4 separate regions of the Homo sapiens genome follow, and regions 1, 2 and 4 are each linked to region 3. The links are contacts of gene promoters, found by promoter capture Hi-C in blood cells and fetal thymus (Javierre and others, 2016). All regions are on one chromosome and are shown on one strand. The core of a region is centred on a gene start or on the middle of the fragment in contact, and the rest is flanking DNA. Distances in the headings are between cores, read along the strand shown.

Region 1 (6,115 bases), core at 1,480-3,979, 430 kb after region 3:
GGTGGGGCTGCCAGGCTCTTCCTCAGCCTAGGAAACGCTCCCATCTCAGGACAGCACCCTGGCCCCCAAGACGGCTTCATCCTTTTGGAGAGGTACTTCTGCAGCTTCCTAGGGCCATCAGCACATGTGTCCAGCTGGGTTGATTTAAGGGCTTTTTCCAGGGTGATTTTCCCATGGATTCCAATGAGCAAAACCAGAGGAGCTGGGGAGGTCCATGTAGTGTATTTTTAAATTTCTCCATCTTTATGATCCAGGCATAGTTATGCAGGTTGGACACCGAGGTGTTTTTTTAAATTGCTTATCGAAGTATAATTTAAACAGTGAAATCGTGCATAGATCTTAAATGGCATTTATAAGTTTTGACAAATGTACATACACGGCAATCTATTTTTATTTCACCACCCCAGAAGGTTCCTTCATGCCCTTTCCCAGTCAATACCTCCTCATCCCCAAGGGTACTTTTCCTCTCCCCATAGCTTAGTTCTCTGTTCTAGAATTTCCTGGAAATGGAATCACACAGTATGAACTCTTTTGTGTTTGGCTTCTCTCTCCCAACACGATGTTTTTGAGTCATCAGGTTGTTGCCTGTACCAGGTTAAATAGGATATCACTAACAGCGAGATAGTGTTAAGAAGGGGACAATTTTTACCCCGTTGGCCTCCAGGCCAGATACTACCTATATCCTGGTAAGTGGCCCTCCTTGCCCTTCCAAGTGAGTCTCTCTCCAGGGCCATGCAAGTTCCTCTCCCAGAACCGCTCAGGCGGCCTCGGGCACCACCCAGATGGCTGCGGGGCCATCACCAGGTCGCCTCCCCAGAACAGCTGCCCCCTGCTTCCCCCCAGCCCCATTAAAACTCAAAAGGGAACTCTGGCCCCTCTGCCGATCAGAATTCAGACTCGCTTAATTCCATGCATCCAACTGCACACCACCGTGTGATGTTTTGGTGATCAGATATGCAGAGTTCTTTAAAAAACGTAAAAAGAAAAAAAGAAAAGGTGGGTAAAAACCGAGATCTCCCGGGCAGTGGATATGTCTCGGTTGAGCCAGGGATTCAGAATGAAATCTTTTCTTTTCTTTTTTAAATAAACGGAAGAGTCGTTCTCTGCTCCTCGCTCAGAAGGTTTCAAAGGTCGTCACACTGAAGCCCGGGGGCGTTCATCTCCCCAGCGGCCGGGAGAAGGGAGGAGGTTGGAGGGCGGAGGGAGGGAGCACACAAAAGCGGGCCGTGCTGAGAGGGCTAATGTTTCCTGTTTGCCTGGAGCCCCCTCCCCTGCCTCCCCTCCCCCAGCCCCCTCCCAGCACTCGGGCGGAAGTGAGTTTGCTCCTTTGGAGATTAAAAGGATTCCGAATTCCGATCAGTCCCAATAACCGGCGTACTGAAGAGAAGAGGAGGAGGAGGAGGAGGCAGAGGCGGCAAAGCAGAGAAAGAGGGGGCGCGCGCGCGCGCACGCAACCCGAACTGGGGGAGTTGTGCAAAGCCCCAGGAGGCCGGGGCACGGCGGGAGCAAAGCTCGGTAGGCGCAGCGCGGCCGAGGCCACCCGCGTCCGGATCGGCGACTCCTTTCAGAAAGAAGATGACGCGGGCGCGAGCCGGCGGCGTTGGCCACGCGGCTCCCGAGCTCGCCGCGCGGGGCTGTTGCCGGTTCCACTGATTCCAGCGCGCCCGAGAGGAGCCTCCATCCCCGAGGCTCGGGATCGGAGGGGGGACCAAGGCGAGGGCGAAATGGCCCGATGACAAAGGAAATGTGATCCCCCTTCTCTGCCAAGGTTTCAGAGAGGACGGACGTGAGGAGGAGGAGGGGCGCAGGGCGCGCGCGGAGCTCGGATAGCATTGCACGACGGCCCGCGCGGAGCGGGTACATCTAATATCTTCCTGCCGATGAATAATTCAGGGCGGCCCGCGGGGACCTGCGGCCCCGCGCGCTAAGCCGAAGGGGAAGGAGCGTGCGTGAGGCGCCCAGGCCAGGCGAGGCGGGGGCACGAGGGCTCCGGGCCGCGTGGGGCGCGCGTGCGTGTTAAGCGCGGGCAGCCGCGGCCCGGCTGGGCAGGCGCGCGGAAGACTCGAGGCGCGTGGGACGCGCGTGCGTACTGCACGCGTGCGGCCGCGGCTGGGCCACCACGAGCTGCAGCTGCTGCGGGGCCCACCGCCCTGCAGGGGAGGCCGTGCCTGGCTGTGCGCAAGCCCCAAGCGCAGCACGCCGGGCCACCCAGGAGCCCCTGGCCGCCGCGTCATGCGGCGGGGCAGCCGACGTCGCGCGGGGAGACACCGGCTTGGCGACGCACCGCTCCCGCCTTTACTAGTTTGGGGCTCCTTCCCCTCCCAAGAACAGACTAAATCCGTTTAAAGAAAAGCAACGCACCAAATACTCGTGGAACCAAATTCTGCTCTCGCCGGGACTGGGACTGCACAGCGAACTCTCCTTTTGGGAACTCCTTTCGTCTATCGCGAAGGGAAGCCTCAGCTGCTCCAGGGAGTCTTCCGACCTCCCTGCCCCCGCTCGCCCCTCGCCTGTCGGGGCTTGTTCCGGCGTTCCCTCTTCGGAAGGCACGCGGCCCCCAAGTTATCCGGAGGAATCTGTGTCGCCGCTGGATAGTGGCATTTAATGCCTGCAGTGTCGGGGGTGGCAGCGCTCGGGCCGGACGTGGCGAGGCCAAGCGGGCAGCGCTGCTCTGGTGCCGGCTCCCGGATTGCAGGCCTAATCGATGCATTTTTCTGAGTGAGTCGGTGACTCCCCCACCCACCTCGTCCGCTCTCTCCTCCTCCTCCTCCTCTTCCTCTCTGGTCTCCTCCCTCCTCCGGGCTGGGTTGCAAATGGCTTCGTTCCCCGAGACCGATTTCCAGATCTGCTTGCTGTGCAAGGAGATGTGCGGCTCGCCGGCGCCGCTCTCCTCCAACTCGTCCGCGTCGTCGTCCTCCTCGCAGACGTCCACGTCGTCGGGGGGCGGCGGCGGGGGCCCTGGGGCGGCGGCGCGCCGCCTACACGTCCTGCCCTGCCTGCACGCCTTCTGCCGCCCCTGCCTCGAGGCGCACCGGCTGCCGGCGGCGGGCGGCGGCGCGGCGGGAGAGCCGCTCAAGCTGCGCTGCCCCGTGTGCGACCAGAAAGTAGTGCTAGCCGAGGCGGCGGGTATGGACGCGCTGCCTTCGTCCGCCTTCCTGCTTAGCAACCTGCTCGACGCGGTGGTGGCCACTGCCGACGAGCCGCCGCCCAAGAACGGGCGCGCCGGCGCTCCGGCGGGAGCGGGCGGCCACAGCAACCACCGGCACCACGCTCACCACGCGCACCCGCGCGCGTCCGCCTCCGCGCCGCCACTCCCGCAGGCGCCGCAGCCGCCCGCGCCTTCCCGCTCGGCACCCGGCGGCCCTGCCGCTTCCCCGTCGGCGCTGCTGCTCCGCCGTCCTCACGGCTGCAGCTCGTGCGATGAGGGCAACGCAGCTTCTTCGCGCTGCCTCGACTGCCAGGAGCACCTGTGCGACAACTGCGTCCGAGCGCACCAGCGCGTGCGCCTCACCAAGGACCACTACATCGAGCGCGGCCCGCCGGGTCCCGGTGCCGCAGCAGCGGCGCAGCAGCTCGGGCTCGGGCCGCCCTTTCCCGGCCCGCCCTTCTCCATCCTCTCAGTGTTTCCCGAGCGCCTCGGCTTCTGCCAGCACCACGACGACGAGGTGAGTGCGTGGGGGCGTGTGTTTGTGTCCATCGGATAACTGCGTGTGTGCTCAACAGCGTTTCCCGGCCGGTCCCACAGCGAGGGGAGGAGGCCCTCTCCGGATTTGGTTTGTATTTCCTTTGGCTACGTGGCAGTCCTTGCTACCAAAGTAGATCATGACCTGGGAAGTATGTGGAAGTGGATTCTGTGTACGTGTCGCGAGGGGCTCCGAAAAATCCCATAGCGTGGGGTCCTCCCTTTTCTGATTTTAATTTCTGTGTGGCAAAACGCGGCAATCGTCTTGAGTTAGGCGTGAGTTGGGAGGAGATAGGTGTGTGTGTTTGTGTAGACGTGGCCTGCTCCTGCTCTTGTGGGCACACCAGAGGCCTCCCAACGTGCTGAGAAGGCGCTCCTTTATTTTCAGATTTTTGTTTGGAAAACTCATAGATTGTTGCCTTTAAAATGGGGCGTGAGCCCGGAAGAGATGGTTGTGTGGGTGAGTGCGTGGAGTTTGTGTGCCTCCGTAGACCTGGTTTCCACGTGCGCACTTGTGAGGGGAAGACTGGTTTTTTTGTTGTTGGGACAGCATGGCAGTCCTTGCCTCCTTATGTTGGGTAAGAGTGGGAGCGTCTGTGGATCTTTGAGGGCCAAGGGCCCCCAGTCTTAAGCCCTTCTCTCTCTGCGGCTGCTTCCTATATTGTTTAAAATGCGTGTTCTGGCCCCTGAATTCTCCTAGCGTGAAATCGCCGTTCGTGGGCCCACGGCTGCACCCCGAGATAGAAGCGGAATAAAGGGACGACGTTACCTTCACCAGCCTGAGTCTCTTGGGCCGCGCCCGCCTGCCCCGACTCCAAGCCCTACAGGAACCGGTTTCCCTGGTTAGGAGGTATCCACCCGGCTCAACCAGGGTCTCGACTTCCTTGGAAAAGACCAAGGCAGCCGTACGCTGCTGGAACGCCGGAGTGCAAAGGCTTTTAGGGCTACATTGCAACCCTCGGGCTCGATTTCGCCCTTTGGGCTGTCGAGTAAACATTTGCTTTTCACACAGTGTGACCCCTTTCTCCTTTCCACTTTGGTATTATGCGAGTGTCGTCTTCTCCCCCGAACCCAATGAAGGCAGGCCAAAAGTCTTGAGAAGCGGGCTCTTGCCGAGGGGGTCGGTAACTTAGGCGATCTACCTGTAGACCGGTAAGAGAGGGTGTGGGTGAAAGTCTTGACTTAGAGCGTAAGCTGGAGACTGCAGAGGCTTTAAAAGCCATAGTGGGGGTCGTGGCCTGTGTGAGCTGGAGAGTGGGTACCGAGCACCGCAAAGGTGAGCCCAGCGCCGCTGCCTTTTCCACTCCTAACCTGTTATTTGGGGAGGAGGGCGGAGCTATTGCCTGATGGCCTTTAGCTGGCTTCTCCTGTTGGAAAAAAGTTGAAATTCTAATCTACTTGTTGTAGGCATCTCCTTTTAAAAGGTTTCTTCTAGGTAAGAAGCTAGGGGGCAGTTATCTTTTTTTTCCGTTTTTAAACTTTGAATGGACTCCTAGTTTTAATATACTGTGGGTTCATGTTCTTTCATCACTTTTAGAAAAATGAGTGATTGAGGTAAATACCGATCCAAATCCCAGGAACAGAAAAATGGAGCCAATTCACTTGCAGTTTGGGATCAAATGCAGGGTGAGCAGAATGGGGTTGAATCCAGGAGTTTCCCCTTCTGAGAGGTGCTTTTAGTTTAAATGTCAGTTTATATTTCCAGTTAAAGATACACCTATATTTTATTTGGGCTGAAACAGTAGATGCTCAGTGTTGGCAGACTTGTAAAAGATTTATTCACTTTTAAAATTAGAAAACCCTTCAAACTGCATTGGGGAGTGTGAATTGAGAAGTGAAGCTCTCCACTCACCCTGGGAGGTACTCGGAAGCTCTTCAAATTCACTTTTTAGCATGTGCAATGTCAGGTTGAAGTAACTAATAATCCTTAACATAAAATTTGCTCAGTTTTGAGCAAGATTCTGCTTGCTCCCTTTAGCTTTTCATTAAAAACATTTCGGAAGTTGTTTGGCCTTTTTATTCATTCCTGGATTTAGAACGCTAGAAATTTGAGATTAAAGGTGACAAACCAGTGTTCTGAGTAGAAGACTAAAGTGTTAGGAGAGACAGCACTAACAGGTAGTGAGGTTCATAAACGGTTCCACCTACAGCTTAAATAATTCCTTTTCTTTTGATCTCGTTAACAGTTTGAGAATATTGTTCCTTTAAAAAGTCATCCCTCTCTGGCTGGGAAGGAGCTTTAGGACATTTTTGGAGGATGATAGACTGACCCATATCTGGACTGCGATACACTGAATGCCTAAATCCACATATTTTAATGTGTATACTGTCTACCTCAATTTTTAAGATGAGCTCCTTAACTGAGTTGCTTCCCTTGTCCACAGGCTCCGTTAAATAATTCAGAGTAGCACCTTTTCCTTATAGTGACTCAGG
Region 2 (5,492 bases), core at 2,917-5,416, 290 kb before region 3:
AGAGCTCAGGGCCTTTGCAGCCTCCATACTAGCGTTGGCCCCCTGGTCCCACTTTCTCTCTTGTCTTTTCTCATTCCTTTGACTCTGCTGGACTTCGTAGCACCCACAGCTTAGTGTTGGGTCTGATCACCCCAACACACAGAATAGGTGGGTAGCTCACGTTCATGCAAATGTAGTTGTAATATTCAGGAATAAGAGTTTCCAGAGAAGGTACAAAACTTTTACGTGACCCCCAAAAAATTTAAAAAAAAGAAAAAAAAACAAAAAACTTTTAGGTGGCTAGGCGTGGTGGCTCTTGCCTATAATCCCAGCACTTTGAGAGGCCAAGGCAGGAAGATTGCCTGAGACCTGGAGTTCAAGATCAGCCTGAGCAACGTAGCAAGACCCTGTTTCTACCAAAAAAAAACCTTTTTTAAAATAAACTAAAAACTTTTAGGCAACTGCTAAAAATGAATCATTTGGTGTAAAGGGACCTTTACAAAATCATTTAAGAGCAGGGACCTCTCTTAAAGGCCTGTGGATCTCCCAAGCATGGAAATAACAGAAAATCTTGAGTTCCTTCAAGGGAAATTCCAGGCACCTTCCCAGCCTTTAGAAGTAAATGAGCAAATTAATAAGCAAGAAGGTAATAGTAGCTTAAAACAATAGCCAAGGCCGGGCACAGTGGCTCACGCCTGTAATCCCAGCACTCTGGGAGGCTGAGGCAGGCAGATCACTTGAGCTCAGGAGTTCGAGACCAGCCTGGGCAACATGGCAAAATCCCGTCTCTACAAAAAATACAAAAATTAGCATTGTGACATGTACCTGTAGTCCCAACTACTTGAGAGGCTGAGGGAGAGGATCACTTGAGCTGGGAGGCAGAGGTTGCAGTGAGCTGAGATTGTGCCACTGCACTCCAGCCTGGATGACAGAGCAAGACTCTACCTCAAAATAAAAAAAAAAAATCAAAAATAAAAAGCCAAGGAAGTTAGAGTCAGAAGATGGTCCCTATAGAAACTAATGATGCATCTTAACTATGTCCCTGAGTTGTTTTTTAAAAACCCAGACCCTCACGAAATGTATCCACTGGCATATAGACCTCAGATAAGGAGGAACTGAGGATTGAACTCTGACCACTGTTCTTCAACGTCTTTCAGAGGGGCCTGAAAGTCATGTCTGCAAATCAGAACTAACATTCTTTTTTTTTCTTTTATTTTTTCTTTTTGGAGACAGTGTATCACTCTGTTGCCCAGGCTGGAGTGCAGTGGCACAATCATGGCTCACTGCAACCTCCACCTTCCAGGCCCAAGCAATCCTCCCACCTCAGTCTCCCAAGTAGCTAGAACCACAGGTCTGTGCCAGCATGGTCAGCTAATTTTTAAATTATTTTTGTAGAGATGGGGTCTCCCTATACTGCCCAGGCTGAGAACTAACGTTCTTTTCTACTGACCCCAAATTTTTAGACAAAGCTTTGTCTAAAGTTCCTTAACCAATTGCAAAAAAGAAAATCTCTGATTCACCTATGACCTGTGGGTCCCCCTCCCCCACTTTGAGATGTCCTGCTTTTTTAGGTCAAACCAATGTGTAGCTCCATGTATTGATTTATGACTTTGCCTGTAACCTCTGCCCCACGCACCTTTATTTTACTTTTTATTTTTGAGACAGGGTCTTGCTCTTTCATTCAGGCTGGAGTGCAGTGGCACAATTACAGTTCACTGCAACCTCGACCTCCTAGGCTCAAGTAATCCCCTCATCTCAGCCTATTCCGACTAGCTGGGACACCCAGCTAATTTTAATTTTTTGTAGAGACACGGTATGTGTTATCCAGCCTGGTCTTGAACTCCTGAGCTCAAGCAATCTTCCCACCCCGGCCTCCCAAAGTGTTGAGATTACAGGTGTGAGCCACCGCGCCTGGCCCCCAGCTGCCTTTAAAAACCCTTACTTGCCAGCCATCAAGGAGGAGCTACCTGATTCTCCTTGCTTGGTACCCTACAGATAAACACCCTTCTTTCTCCCTCTGCAAACCTTGGTGTGGGTATTTGGCCTTACTGTGTCAGGTGAAGGGACCCTAGTTCAGTTAGATAACATAAATATTTGCAGTGTATGTGTACTACCCAAGGACATGACTTCATTATTCAATTTGACAAATGCGTTCTGTTACACAAATACAGAAAGGATTAATAAAGCTTTACTAGTCCATCTTTCCCATTATCCCTGCATGTATCCTTGCATTAGTGCAAATAATTGAGAACAAACCATTGGTGAGGGGATGGAAAGACTGCTCTGACTCACCAGCTCCCTTTAAGTATTTCCTTAAGTAAATATCATAAGTAACACAAATAAATATTTCATACAATGTAGAGAAAAAAGCAAAAATAACAGTTCTCTGAGCATCAAACTAATAGGCTTAGTATTACTATCATTTTTTTGAAACGGAGTGTCGCTCTTGTCGCCCAGGCAAGATCTCGGCTCACTGCAACCTCCGCCTCCCAGGTTCAAGAGATTCTCCTGTCTCAGCCTCCTGAGTAGCTGGGATTACAGGCATCTGCCACCATGCCTGGCTAATTTTTTGTATTTTCAGTAGAGACGGGGTTTTGCCAAGTTGGGCAGACTAGTCTCCATCTCCTGACCTCAGGTGAACTGCCTGCCTCGACCTCCTGAAGTGCTGGGGTTATAGGCGTGAGCCACGGCACCCGGCCTAGGCTTAGTTTTTTGTAGGTACTAGAGTATTTGTTTCTTTAGCCAGAATCCACTGATATTTTAGTCTTCTGGTTCTCAATCTTGGCTTGCTTTTGCAACTACCTCTTGAACTTTAAAAAATTCTGCTCCAGCCTGGGCAACAGAAGGAGACTGTCTCAAAAAATATATGTCAATAAGTAAATATCCTGATGCCTGGATCCCACCATGGGACATTCTGATGTAACTGGCCTGCAATGGTGTCTGGGCATGGGGATTTTTAAAAGCCCCAGTGACTAATATGCAGCAGAGTTTGAGAACCACTGGTTTAAAGGACTTTGTCCTACTCTGACAGCGTCTAGCACAGTGCCTGGCAGAGACTGATGCTCAGAATGAACAAACTAAGATTCTATTTGTCAAGGAGGAGAGCATTGTGTTACTCACAAATGCAAACAAACCACAAGCAAGGGATAAGTCAGGCCCTGGGCAAAGACAATGGTAAAGCAATTCCTGCCAAGTAAGCGTGTGAGGGTGACACCCACTGAATGCAAGCTGTTGTTACCTTTTTCCCTTTATTTTTATGTATTTATTTTTTGTTGAGACAGGGTCTCACTGTCCTTCAGTCTGGAGTGCAGTGGCCCTATCCTGGCTCACTGAAGCCTCGACCTCCTGGGCACATGCAATTCTCCCGCCTCAGCCTCCTGAGTAGCTAGGACTATAGGTGCGTGCCACCATGCTTGGCTAATTTTTTAAATTTTTGTACAGAGGGGTGGGGGGTCCTAATTATGTTGCTCAGGCTGGTCTCGAACTCCTGGGCTCAAGTGATCTTCCTGACTCGGCCTCCAAAAGTGCTGGGATTACAGGTGTGAGCCACTGCACCAGGTCAAGTTTCTATCTTGACTCTAACTAGAAAAGGTGTCATCCTTGAAATGCAGGTACTGTTCAGCCAAATTCCAAAGTCCTCTGAAGATCCAAGTTCTCTAAGAAGTTCAGAGGTGCCAGGCTGTGTCTTGTTTGTGCAAATGAAACAGAGGATGACAAGGTCGGGTGGGCATTTCGAGCTCTGCCCCAAGTCTGGTCGGCTTGAGAGTCAACCTAGGAGCCTCTCTCGGCTCCAAATGGCAATGTGGCAGCCCTTCCCGAGTAGGGAAAAAGGAGCGTGTAGGGGGCACCACGGCAAGCTGGTTGGGTCTGCTCCACCCATGAGGATGGAGTGCAGCCTCCACCGGGAACCAGGGGCGCGAGTCGCTGCTCAGTGGCCTGGGCCTGCATGTGGCGCGGCGGGAGCTGCTGCCTAGGGCCGCGCAGCGACGGGGGGTGAGGACTACATGTCCCGACGTGCCTCGGGCAGGGCGGGGCGGTGCCGGAGCCGGGCCTGGAGGCCGGCCGGGGCCAGGCGTGCGCAGTGGTTCTTGGGAGTGGCGAAGCGGGTCCTGCCCCGCTGTCAGCTGCGGCCCCCGGCGCCGGGCGGGGGTGGCCGCGACCATTGGCGGAGAGGCGAAAGGGGCGGGGCCGCCGCCAGCCGCTGCGGGCAAGGCTGAACAGGCGGAGGTGGGCAGCCGGCCAGGGAAGCACGGTCCAGGCGGCTACATTCGGCCCGGCCATGGCAGCGGCGCCCCTGAAAGTGTGCATCGTGGGCTCGGGGAACTGGTGAGCGGCGGCGGGCTGGAGGCCGGGGCTCCGCTTCCAGGAAGCGCCTCTCCCGGGCGGTGAGGGCTGCGCGCCCCATGCTGCGGCGTGGGCACCGGGCACTGCGCGCAGGGAGGCGGGGTGGGCGACCTCGTTGCTGGGCTGGGCACCGTGCGCCCGAGGAGGCCGCACCGGGGCACTCGCTCGGGAGGCGCTGGGCTCGCGTGCGTGCGGGGGACAGCGCGGAGAGAGGGCACCCCGAGCACGCGGGCACCTGTCTGCGCCCCCGTTACTGAGCGCACAGAAGCCACCTGCTTGCCACGCCTGGGTGTTTTGCACAATATCCTAAGGGCGTATTCCGTTCTCCACGGCGGATCTCCTGGGTCAAGGACTTGGTGGAGGCTCGAGCATTCTTACTGCAGTTTCGGTGTTGAGGAAACCGAGGCGGAGAGGGCTAAAGGGCTCTTGCTGCCCAGGTCACGGGCGGGGCATGCTCTGCCCTTCAAGGTGCCCGTCTCGCCCCCGCTTCTGATAGGTCCACTATCTTAGGCGCGTCGTATCAGGAAGAAAATCCAAGTTTCAACAGGCCGCTCTCCCTGAGGCGTTGAGAATTCTCCCTTGCCGAGATGTTTGCGAAGCTTTGCGTCTCTTTGGGGCCTTATTTGACTTTAACATTTTATAGAGCACATTAGAAATGTCAGTTCTTCTAGTACCCTTAATCAAACGTACACTGTGGGATTCTCTGGTGTGTTTGGGTGAATGTAGAGGTGGGGGTGTGAAGGGGGAAGGAAGCAAAGTGTAGCATCTGGTGTTTCCAAGCCTTTTTTCATTGCTGTACACTCTGCCACATTGGAGGGACTGGTGTACAATAGTTAAGAGTGATGATGTCCTTTCAGTGCTTCTGTTTACCGGTTTTTCTGTGGCGTGACAGGCATCAGAAGTGCTGCAGCAGCTGGTCCTAGGTAGTTGGTCTTAGTTTTACTCTTTCAAGACTTGGCCCAGAAAGTACTTATTGAAGGAAACCTTACCTGGTTCTTCACTTTTCCATCCCAGCAAGGCCAGTGGCCTCTCTCTGTGTCCCTATTGCTGGCCTGCATCACTGCATTATAAGGAGTTATTTGATTATCTGTCTCCCAACTTTTGAGAATGGCATCTACCCTAGTGCCTGGCATATGCTAAGTCAATACTAAGACTCTGTTGCAGTGGTG
Region 3 (5,523 bases), core at 1,509-4,008:
CTGAATTGGACAAAGGCCCCTCAAAGGAGAAATGATCCAGCACTTGGTTTTTCTGCTTCCCTGAAACCCTCATCTCAACAAAGATGCCCTGTTATCTCCACTGTGGGTCCTGAAGCCTTAGACAAGTACAGAAGTGAAATGTACATCTACATAAAAAAATGATACACAGTACTAACTTCATGCCTGTGGGTATAGAGCCAGAAATGTCACAGCACACCTGCATATCTATCACATTGTCACAGCAGCCCCTAGATGCAATTATTCCTGAATTACAGAGAAACAAATGGAGGTACCAGGCAGCTGTGACTGTTGTCTACAGAGAAGACACACGTGGAAGGCAATTTTTCTTGGTCATGAAAATTGTCAAATGTACATAAAGGTGAAATAAATAGTGTAATAAATCCCCAAATGTTTCAACTGCAGTGGACTCTGGCAATGACAGTGGTTCTCAAATTTGAGTGTGCATCAGAATCACCTAAGAGACTTGCCAAAACAGATATTGCATGGGTATCATCCACCAACAAGAATTATTAGGACTTTGCCACATCGAAAACTCTTCTGATGACAAGACAGCACTGGCAGGGAATAAACTCACAAAGATAGTTTTATGTTTCACTTTGCTTTGTTTTGTTCTTGAGGCAGGGTCTTGCTCTGTCACCCAGCCTGGAGTACAGTGTTGTAATCATGACTCACTGCAGCTTCAACCTCCCGGGCTCAAGCAATCCTCCCACCTCAGCCTCCTGAGTAGCTGGGACTACAGGCATGTGCCACCATGCCCAGTTAATTTTTGTATTTTTTTGTAGAGATGGGGTTTCTCCATGTTGCCCTTGCTGGTGTCAAACTTGGGCTTGTGAGCTTGATTTTGGGATTACAGACATGAGCCACCGTGCCCAGCCAGATTTTTTGATGTTATCTCCAAATGAATAAATGTAAGTATGGCCACAGGGACACTGCTCAAAAGGAACATGATAACATACCTCGTTTTGGTAGTCCCGTTTGGGCCTGTCTTCATTTTTATGTTTTTTTCCTTTTCTTTTTCTTTTTCTTTTTTTAAGAGACAGTGTCTCACTCTGTCACCCAGACAAGAGTGCGGTGGCAAGATCATAGCTCACTGCAATCTCGGACTCCTGGCCTCCAGGGATCTTCATGCCTTGACTTCCCAAAGTGCTGGGATTATAGGTGTGAGCCACCACGCCTGGCCTCTTCATTTTTAAAACAACCCAAAAGGGATACAGAATAGAATGTCACTTGGATAGCTGTTTGACAGCTTTTTCTTTTTCTTGTCTTTTTTTTTTTTTTTAATTGAGACAAGGTCTTGCTCTGTGGCCCAGGCTGGAGTGCAATGCCACTGTCATGGCTCACTGCAGCCTCAACCTCCTGGGCTCCAAGGCTCCTCCAGACTCAGCCTCCTGAACAGGCATGTGCCACTGCACCCAGCTAATTTATTTATTTATTTATTTTTATTTTTATTTTTATTTTGAGACAGAGTCTCGCTCTGTCGCCCAGGCTCGAATGCAGTGGCGCAAGCTCTGCTCACTGCAAGCTCCGCCTCCCGGGTTCACGCCATTCTCAGCATCCCGAGTAGCTGTGACTGCAGGCGCCCGCCACCACGCCCAGCTAATTTTTTGTATTTTTAGTAGAGACGGGGTTTCACCGTGTTAGCCAGAATGGTCTCGATCTCCTGACCTCGTGATCCGCCCGCCTCGGCCTCCCAAAGTGCTGGAATTACAGGCGTGAGCCACCGCGCCCGGCCCAGCTAATTTATTTTTATTTTTTGTTTTTTGTAGAAATGAGGTCTGGCCATGTTCCCCAGGCTGACAGCTTCTAACAGAAGCAAACATATGCTCCCCTTGTAACCAGTGCGTTCACTTGCAGATATTTGTCCCAGAGAAATGAGAGTTTGTATCCACCAAAAAAACGTGTACCATAATAGTGACTATAGCCAGAAAAGAGATGAGGGAGGGGGGAAAGGCCGGAAGGAGGGAAGGAGGCAGGCAAGCAGGTAGGAAGGAAGCAAGCTTGGTGTCCATCAACTGGGTAAACGTTTAAAAAATACGGTATCTTTGCACAGTGGAGTACTACTCAGCAATAAAAAGGAAGGAACTGATATGAACTACTTATATTCCCAACAGGATGGATCTTCTAATTTGTTATGTTGAAGGAGAATATTCTGTATTACTTCAAGTTTATGAAGTCCAAGAACAGGCAAAATGAACCTACAGTGACAGAAAGCAGAATACACTGTAGTGGTTGCCTGAGGCTGGATAAGGATGGGGCCAGGGAAGGAAGGTAGGTCAGGAAGGCCCACCACGGAACTTTCTGGGGTGATGGGCACGTTCTATTTGTTGATCTGGGCGACGGTTACACAGGTGTACACATATATAAAAATTAGTGGAGCTGAACACGTAAGGTCTGGGCATCACACTTTATGTAAGTTAAACTTCAGTAAAGTGCTCTCAGCACACATCCGCAGCCGCACCCACACAAAATCCCAGGAGGCTCAGTACCAGCTGTGGTCCGGGCCTTGCCCACCTCGGAGAGGCCACGACCCAAGGCATCCGGTTTCCTCTCGCTCCAGTCTAACTTCCGCGCATCTACGAGGGCCGGGACTGCCGCTACCTTTCTGGAAGGCGCCGGCCGGCCAGTCACCGGAGGGATCCCGCCAGAGGCGGCTCCGCGTCTCCAGCAGCGGGGCAGGGACCCGGGCGCCCCGCCCTCGCCAGCGCCCGCCCCCGCCCGCCCCCGGCCCGCCCTCTGTATCTGGCCCCTGGGCAGCTGCCCGGGGAGGCGGCCAGCGAGCTGGGGCCGCGCAATGTCGCACGGAGCCGGGCTCGTCCGCACCACGTGCAGCAGCGGCAGCGCGCTCGGACCCGGGGCCGGCGCGGCCCAGCCCAGCGCGAGCCCCTTGGAGGGGCTGCTGGACCTCAGCTACCCCCGCACCCACGCGGCCCTGCTGAAAGTGGCGCAAATGGTAAGTGAGCGCGGGGCGCGAGGCCGAGGTTCTACAGGGCGTCCCGGGAAAGCAGGGGTCCGGGAGCGGACGCGCCGGGCGTCTGGACCCGGCCGGAGCCCAGGGAGCATCGCGCAGCGGGCGGGGCACCGCGTCGCTAAAGTTCGCGGCAGGCTTCCTCCGGGAAAGTTGCTGCCGCAGCCCCCGCGCTGGAGCTCAGTCCCCAGAGCCGCCCCGGCCCTTGCTCCCGCGGACCCAGGTCGCCAGGGTCGCAAGTTTCTCCGGCCACCCCCCTGCGAAGCCTGACCCGCCTACTGACTGAAACCACGGGCAAAGTTCCTTTTCGTCTTTCTTCCTCTTCTCTGGGCCGCGCCGCTTCGAACCCGAGCCGGGGGTGGAAGAGTCGCCCAGGCGGCGGCGCTGAGGGAGCGAAACCCGACCTCTTCCCCGTCCACGGCCTCCTCTTTCCTCCGAACCCAGCGCGGCAGGGCTTCCCTGCTCTGTGTGCAGTTTCGCTCGAAGGAGGAGGTCAGAGGGTCTTGTGTTCCATAGTGGGGAAAAAGAACTGGGACCGTTGAGACGGCCGTCCTGGTCCCCTGCGCCCTCAAGTTCCGAGGGAGGGCCCGGGTCTCAGGGGGCTCTGGAGGGCAGGGGGTCAGTTGGGAAAGGCCTGTTGTCAGGGGCTGGTACTCATGTAGGGGAGCCAGACTGTTGAATGGGAGTCACCCGTGGAGCCAGGCAGGATGAGTGTCTGGGCTTGGATTGTGACCAACTCAGCACAAGGGCCTCCTACCAGGGCAGACGTTGCCTGGCCGATTCTCTTGTTCCCCACTCTTTTCTTTTCTCCCCTCCCGTTTTTTTCTTCTTTAAAAGTTTGTAATCTGAAACAACTTTTCCGTTTGTATGATGTGTTTTGAAACTGGGTTGGGCTGTTTGTGAGTCTCCACCATTGTAATGTTTGCACCAAGAACGGTGGGGAGGGGAGCGGTAAGTTTCAAAAAGAGGTGTGGGGAAAGGAGTGTGGGGCTGGACAAGGTCACACACCCAGAAGCTGGGGCCTGCTAAGGTGGCCTGGCCCCAGGGGGTTGGGCACAGGACGTCTGTGCATCTATAGCACTGCCATTCCAGACACTGAGTGTGCATGAGGTGGCCCTCATGTCTTGCTTGGGCCAGACCTAAAGAGAAGGGGCGCTGAGTTCCTGCCTCCCTAAGAACGGTGTCTAGATAGACCAAAAACTAGGAAGAGCCATTTCAGCAACGTACAAAAAAATCTGGTGCTGAGCATTGTTGGGTTTGAGCAGGGCATTTTTTGGCCCAGGCTAAGAGATTTGATCAGCCAAATAGAAGAGACCAGCCCATCTCACCATCCTTAAAAGATGGGCTGGGGTGAGACATATCCTACCTGAGCATTGGAAGGGATGAGTTTGGTAGACAGAGAATGGGATCAGAAGCCTCCATCTTGGCCCCTGAGTTTGCTGGACAAAGATATTGTGGGATGAAAAGTCTTCTTGTTGGTCTATGAGTTTGGTACACAAACATAATGGAGATGAAACCTCGGCAACATAGCGAGACCCCATCTCTACAAAAAAAATTTTAAAACCTTGTGTGGTTGGCATGGGCCTCTAGTCCCAGTTACTTGGGAGGCTGAGGTGAGAGGATTGATTGAACTGAGAAGGTCAGTGAACTGTGCCACTGCACTAGTCTGCGTGACGGAGGGAGGCCTGTCTCAAAAAAAAAAAAAAAAAAAGGTACAAAGAAAAGGTAATGGAGATGAGAAGCCTTCATGTGGTCCATGATTTTGATGAATAAAGATACTGGGAGATGAGAAATCTCCATCTCATCTTAAGCTCCTCAGCTAGCCTCTGGCCTGTGGTCCTTGGGCCAATTTGCAAGTGGCAAGAGTGGGGCCTGTTGTTCCAAAAAAGAGAACAAAGACTTGAATAATTTCTTTATCTGGTTGCTTATTCTCTATGTGCTCCTCTTAAAACCATGCTGAGGAGTCTTACACCTGCCCTGGAGGATTCCCCATCACTGCTGCAGGCTTGTTTGATCAGACCCTCTGGGAGCAAAGTTGCCCTTGCAGGATGGCTGTATTAGTCCTAGTTAGGGCTATCTACTTGGGCCTCTTATCTAACTCCTCCCTATTTTCCCACTTCTCCTCTTTTCTAAGACTCTGCTTGGGCATTTGAGGTTCATTTGTCTTCTTTGCTGGAAAATGCTTGTTTAGCCAAGTTTTAACATTGGGGAAGGGCAGAAGCAGCTAAATTAATGCCACCCATTGGGGCTTTCTTTCTATGGGTCTCTCATTTTGACCATCAGTTTCTCAGTTTCATACTGAACAGGTTGACCCTTTTGTCCTCAGCTTCTCATGAAATGTTTTCATCATGATCTGATCAATAGATCTGCCAACACGTTGTCTTAAGAAATCATTGCAAAGGCTGTTCCACTGGAGAATGACTTCCCTTGTCTTGGCCTCTTCTGGGTCCACCATTACTAGAAAATGAGTTTCTGAGTGAATGTGTGTACTTGACATGTCATTTATACATGTGTAATTTTTATAATCCTCTGGCCAT
Region 4 (5,398 bases), core at 1,979-4,478, 410 kb before region 3:
AAATAAAGGCAGAATATGATGCCAAGTGTTAAAATATAAGTTTTACAGCAACTTGAGAACATGCAAGAGGACACCAGGGTACAAACTGTTAGTGGGTGATTGGTATTAAGTCCTGGGAGCTGGTGAAGAGCACTACAATTGCACAGCAGCCTGAGAGGATGAACCAAGAACTTGGTTGCTATAGATTTGTCATTAACTGTGGGCACTTTGAAAAGAACTGCCAAAGGAAGATGCTATGAGGCCCAGAAAGAAAGGCAGCAGGAATCAGTTGGCTAACTATTTGTACTAAGGCATTTCCCTGGACCAGGGAAGGGTGGTAGCTCCAGCTCCTAGAACAGTTCCTGCCACATAGTAGGTGCTCAATAAAACAGTCTGTGAATAGATAATTGAACAAATGAATACATTTTCAAAGTTTCTATTTTTATCCTCTTCTCTCTTCCTTTTCACTAATCCATCTGTCCCTTCATAAGACCCCTAGAGAAGGGAGAATTTTGCAAGCACAGAGTCATCGTAATCTTCTCCAAACCACTAATGGACCCTCAGCCATCGTTCAAAGAACAAAATGTGGGAAATAGAAACCCTGACACTGAGATGTTAACAATTACAGACGATGCTTATGGAGTCAGTGGTAGACTTGGAAAACGGTGAGTCTACTGTGGTAAGAACAAACATAGGCAGACAGCTATAAATTGCAGTAAACAAACTCAATAAAGATGAGACATCACTTAAGCATGCTCAGGAGTGTACTTAATACCACATTTCACCTAGGTAGCCTGCTATCACGTAGGTATTATTATTGGCATTAAATGTGCTTCTTCTCAACCTTGCCTCCAATCTAAACACCACAATGGGTTTAAAATAATGCAAAAGAATGTTACTCCAATGCCTCCTAAATCCACTCCAAATAACAAATCCTTTAATACAGACTGCAAGGTAAAATATTGTTCCCCAGCAAGTAAATAATAAAATAACTGTAATCCAGGGTAAAAGCTTTGCTGGCCTCATAATCTACTTGAAGAAAAAGCATTAAGTGATTGCTCAACACACCAACAAAATGCTGTTACTGACAAGGCACCTTGAGTTGCCATTAACGAGACATAATTACCAAGAACTGAAATCAGATTTAGTCATCTCATATCTCCCTCTACCTACGCATTCTACCTATTCTTTTTCAGCTTTCACGAATTGAAAGGGGAAGGGAGAGGCAACAGCAGACACTAGGACTATTTTGAGAAATAAAAGGATTCAAAAGTTAAGTGCAACTTCCACTAACATAGTAACACATCTCCCAGGAAGCCCAGGTGACTCAGAAAGTCCTATATGTAGAATATCAATATAGAAACAACTCAGTTTCCATACTTCAAAAGACCTCTTCCTCCAAGTTGAGTTTCGTGCAGATAACTGGCTGATATGTTTCAGATGGAAGCAAATCTGAACATTTCCAAACAATCTACAGGAAGAGATAACCAAGTAATATAGTCCATGCAGCAGAGATAAGCAACTTTCCAGGGTATAATTCAAATCTCACAAACATCCTTAAGAGCCCCAAGTCTATTAAGATCTGGAGACTGTTAAATAGGCAGGACAAAATATCCCACCAACCACCTCTCCAAAAAGCATTGTTCTCCTCGCACTGACACTTGTATTTCCCTCTGGCTTGTTTTTGGAAAACAAATTGAAAAAAAAAACAAAAACAAAAAGTAAACAGTAGTGCCACATCTGTTCTTGTCTTCCTCACGATGGCAGATCACACACACTACCACCATTCCAAGTGCCTCCTGAGCCCCTTTCCTCGACAGCCCCATCCTTCCACGTGTCCATAACTAGGCTTCTCAACTGCAAGGGGGAAGTGAGCAGGAAACTTCAAATGGGACCTGAAGAGGAAATAATGATAATAATGTAAATTGCTACTAATATTAAAAGGGGGAGGGTATTTTTTCTTTCTTTTTATTATTTTATTTTATTTTATTTTATTTATTTATTTTTTTTGAGTCGGAGTCTCGCACTGTCGCCCCGGCTAGATTGCAATGGCGCGATCTCGGCTCACTGCAACCTCTGCCTCCGGGGTTCAAGCGATTCTCCTGCCTCAGCCTCCGGAGTAGCTGGAATTACAGGCGCGCCGCCACGCCCGGCTAATTTTTTTTGTTTTTAGTAGAGACGGGTTTTCACCATGTTGGCGAGGCTGGTCTCGAACTCCTGACTTCGTGATCTGCCCGCCTCGGCCTCCCAAAGTACTGGGATTACAGAGGTGAGCCACCGCGCCCGGCCTCTTTCTGTTTTTAAACAAAACTTCCATTACAAACATCGGAGGCTGCAAGGCACAAACTGGGGCAGGAGTATGCACAGTCGCCCAGGATGACAAGTGGCAGGTTTTTTGTTGATGGTGGTGGTGTTCTGAAACACCAAACTTTAAAATGAACTGTTACTTAGAGAATTACTGTAATCGGAGCGGACGTGCTAACGCTTTTTCACCCCGGCACAAAGCACGCCCCTTCTGCCTCCCTTTCCCAGTCATTCTTCAGGCGTGCGGGAAACCGCGGACAAGCAGAGCACGGGGACCAGCACGATCCTCCTGCCACCACTCCAGTCTCTGCAGGTGCCAGCATAGAAGAAAACCAGGGCTCTCGCCTCCCTCCCCGCCACTGCGGTGCGGTCCCGGGGTGGAGCCACGGCGCGCCCCATCCTGAGAACCCCACCTGGAGGGGAGCAGGGACGCAGGAAGGGCACCGTTGGGAGGCATCACTGGGTTCGCTGAAGGCACAATCGCGCGCGCACACACATACACAGACACACATACACACACGCACGCACACACACACACACACACACAGCGGCGCGCGGTGGCGCGGGCGGCTGGCGCGTTACCTGTTCTGCCAGCCCTGGAGGAGGTTGGTGTATTTGCTGAGCACGCCCTCGAGCGCCGGCTCCCTCCTGCGGCCGCCTCCCCCGGACGGGCTAGCGGCCACAGAGCCCGGGCTGCTGCGGCTTCCCCCGCCGCCGAGCCCGGCCGCCGCCGACCGGCTGGAGACCCCCCGGCCCGCCAGAGAGCAGGAGGGCGAGGAGCCCGCCGAGGTAGCACGGCTGCTGCTGCGGCTGCTGCTGTTGCTACCCCCGCCGCCGTCTGTGCCCTGGACTGCCCTCTCCATGGTCCGTGGGCGCCCGGGACGCGGGTGCCCGCCGCGGTGGCGGCCCCGGCACGGCGGCTGCTGCTGCTGCTACAGCTCCGGACGCCCGGGCCGCGCGTGCCTGCTCCAAATCCCCGGGAAATGCCTGACTCATACAGGAGGAAGAGGAGGAGGAGGCGAAGGAGAGCTGGGAAGGAAGCCAACGGGGCTGGATGCAGCTGCGGCCGCCCCTCCTCCCGCCGCGGCCAGGGCCCGGCCCCTCCCTCCGCACTAGTTTCCCGGGCAAGTTCGGAGCGGGTGGCCGGCTAGGCGAGCCCTCTTCGGGTTCCTCCTTCTCTTCCTTCGTGTCCCTGCGGCCTCTCAGGCCCTCGGGACACTCTAGGAGGCCGATCTGCAGGGTGGGCACGCCCTAAATCCACGCCAAGTCACCCACGCATTCCTTCTGCCACCCTCTCTTGGATCCGAAGGGGCGAAAGGGAATCTCTGCACGTCACTCCCCACCCCTTATCCACCTCGGGACCTGGAGGGAGGGGCAGCCCCACCCACCCGGTCCACCCGGATATGGACCCGCCCGGCCTGACAGGCTCACACGCACACTCCCTCTCTCGGTCTTCCGCACACGATGCTGCGCCAGACGCTCCTACACAGTAACCTGGAAATTATCACCGGCGGAGCAAAGTCACAGCTCAGGGAGGCCCTCCGCGTTGTCTGGCGGAGGAGGGGAGTGGCAGGTGATCCTCACAGGTAAGCTCGCCGGGCATTTTCATGCAGCAGGATTATGATAAATGCTTAACAGACACACGGCTGGGCTGGGGTGAGGCGCGCGAACTCTCAGGTTTGTGCGAGTGCTTCCTTAAATTGAGTGTCCTAGGTCACTCACTGGCCTAACCCTAATCCCCTGCCCTGAATGGCACGCATAAACCTGGCAAGTCAAAACCTATCCATTGCTACCACACTGCACGTGCACCTAGGAGCAGAGGCTCTGAAACCGGGAAAACTGCTCCAGAGGCAAGGGAAATTAACAGATATTTACAAACATTGAAGGATTCTCTGTGTTGGCTGTAACTTCTGCGCCCCTCTTCCTACCTAAAGATACTCTTTCTATCCCACTAATATTTTTTGTGAATATAGATATCCATTGTAATCTGAAGTATCAAAAATTACCTAGAAAAAAGCTTTGAGGAACTCAGACTCTCTCTCTCACACACACACAGACAAAACAAAAGGTGATAGATGATAGGTGATCTCCGTCCAAAGGATCTACAAACCCATCAAGCAGATAAATACTTCAAGAGTTAAAAAAAATTACTAAATGGAAAAGTCAGCTCTCAAAGGGACAGTTCCCCGAGCCCAACCCCTTTCTAGCTTCACATCCTTCCAGGAAGATTTCATGGGTGGTTTAGCTCTAGAGATGCACGGAGAAGCTTCTGGAGTTGAAGAGAAGTGGTTGTGCCCCTGAGTAAATTACAATTCCAGGTGCCTACATAGTGTTAAAAAAAAAAAAATCTGAAAAGAGCTTGCCTGGACCAAATTTGAAGCCATTCAGAGCTGAATTCTAACCTATGACCTTGATCAAATTACCTCTTTTAGCCTTAGTTTTCTCACTGCAAAATGGGACAAATGATACCGGCTGTAATAAACTATGCAAGAATGTTCATTTGTTCAAAATATTTACTGCCGCTTCCTATGGAAAGAGTATCCTTCCTCCACATGGACCTTAGGCTTGGCCATGGAATTGCTTTGAGCAATGGAATGTGAACAGAAGTAATGAATGCCCCTTCCAAACATAAGCTTTAAGAGCAGTCATATGGTTCCACCATCTTTCTCTTTTCCTTATCCCAGGAGAGCAGCATGTCCCGGATAAGGACTCTCCTTAAGCTTGTGTCCTGGAGTGAGAAGGTGTGGAATACAGCAGATCCTAAGCCAGTTAGTGTTGGCCATGTAACATGCACAAAATGTTTGTTTGAAGCCATTGAGATTTTAGCATTATTTTTTACCACAGCATAGCTTTGCCTAAGCTAACTTACTGATCATATATGAGTGTTCATTGAGTCCTGCATTGACATACAGACTGAAGGTGGGAAGGTAGGTGCATACTGGACTATAAATGTCAGCATTATGTACCAAAACAACATGCCTTTTATTGGAGACTGCCACCTTAAGCTCCTGCTAAAAGAGGAGAAGTGTCATTTTATTTCATATTACCTAACCTATGCCACCATTACTCCACCTTATGCAGCCAACCTAAGACTGAATGAGCTAGCACAACAAAT

The links. The method cuts DNA at HindIII sites, captures the fragments that hold promoters and counts their contacts. A CHiCAGO score of 5 or more calls a contact.
Region 1: the fragment with the promoter of TRIM71 here is called in contact with the fragment with the promoter of CMTM7 in region 3 in 7 of 17 cell types (neutrophils, M2 macrophages, M0 macrophages and 4 more); the score reaches 8.3 in neutrophils.
Region 2: a contact is called between the fragment with the promoter of GPD1L here and the fragment with the promoter of CMTM7 in region 3, in 17 of 17 cell types (activated CD4 T cells, fetal thymus, naive CD4 T cells and 14 more). The highest score is 33.7, in activated CD4 T cells.
Region 4: a contact is called between the fragment with the promoter of OSBPL10 here and the fragment with the promoter of CMTM7 in region 3, in 12 of 17 cell types (total B cells, activated CD4 T cells, fetal thymus and 9 more). The highest score is 17.7, in total B cells.

What each region holds. Positions count from the first base shown.
Region 1 is chr3:32,815,268-32,821,382 of GRCh38, forward strand. It overlaps TRIM71 (tripartite motif containing 71), which reads left to right and starts at 2,730. Exons shown (of 4, transcript NM_001039111.3): 1 at 2,730-3,665. The coding sequence starts at 2,814. RefSeq lists an enhancer at 3,190-3,771. The HindIII fragment of the contact is 10,738 bases long and covers 1-6,115 here.
Region 2 is chr3:32,102,454-32,107,945 of GRCh38, forward strand. GPD1L (glycerol-3-phosphate dehydrogenase 1 like) reads left to right here and starts at 4,167. Exons shown (of 8, transcript NM_015141.4): 1 at 4,167-4,305. The coding sequence starts at 4,259. RefSeq lists silencers at 3,900-4,309, 4,430-4,569. The HindIII fragment of the contact is 2,757 bases long and covers 2,164-4,920 here.
Region 3 is chr3:32,389,095-32,394,617 of GRCh38, forward strand. It overlaps CMTM7 (CKLF like MARVEL transmembrane domain containing 7), which reads left to right and starts at 2,759. Exons shown (of 5, transcript NM_138410.4): 1 at 2,759-2,971. The coding sequence starts at 2,813. The HindIII fragment of the contact is 6,143 bases long and covers 2,017-5,523 here.
Region 4 is chr3:31,978,034-31,983,431 of GRCh38, forward strand. It overlaps OSBPL10 (oxysterol binding protein like 10), which reads right to left and starts at 3,229. Exons shown (of 12, transcript NM_017784.5): 1 at 2,866-3,229. The coding sequence starts at 3,146. ZNF860 (zinc finger protein 860) reads left to right here and starts at 3,717. Exons shown (of 2, transcript NM_001137674.3): 1 at 3,717-3,869. RefSeq lists an enhancer at 1,315-1,364 and a silencer at 2,919-2,988. The HindIII fragment of the contact is 3,310 bases long and covers 989-4,298 here.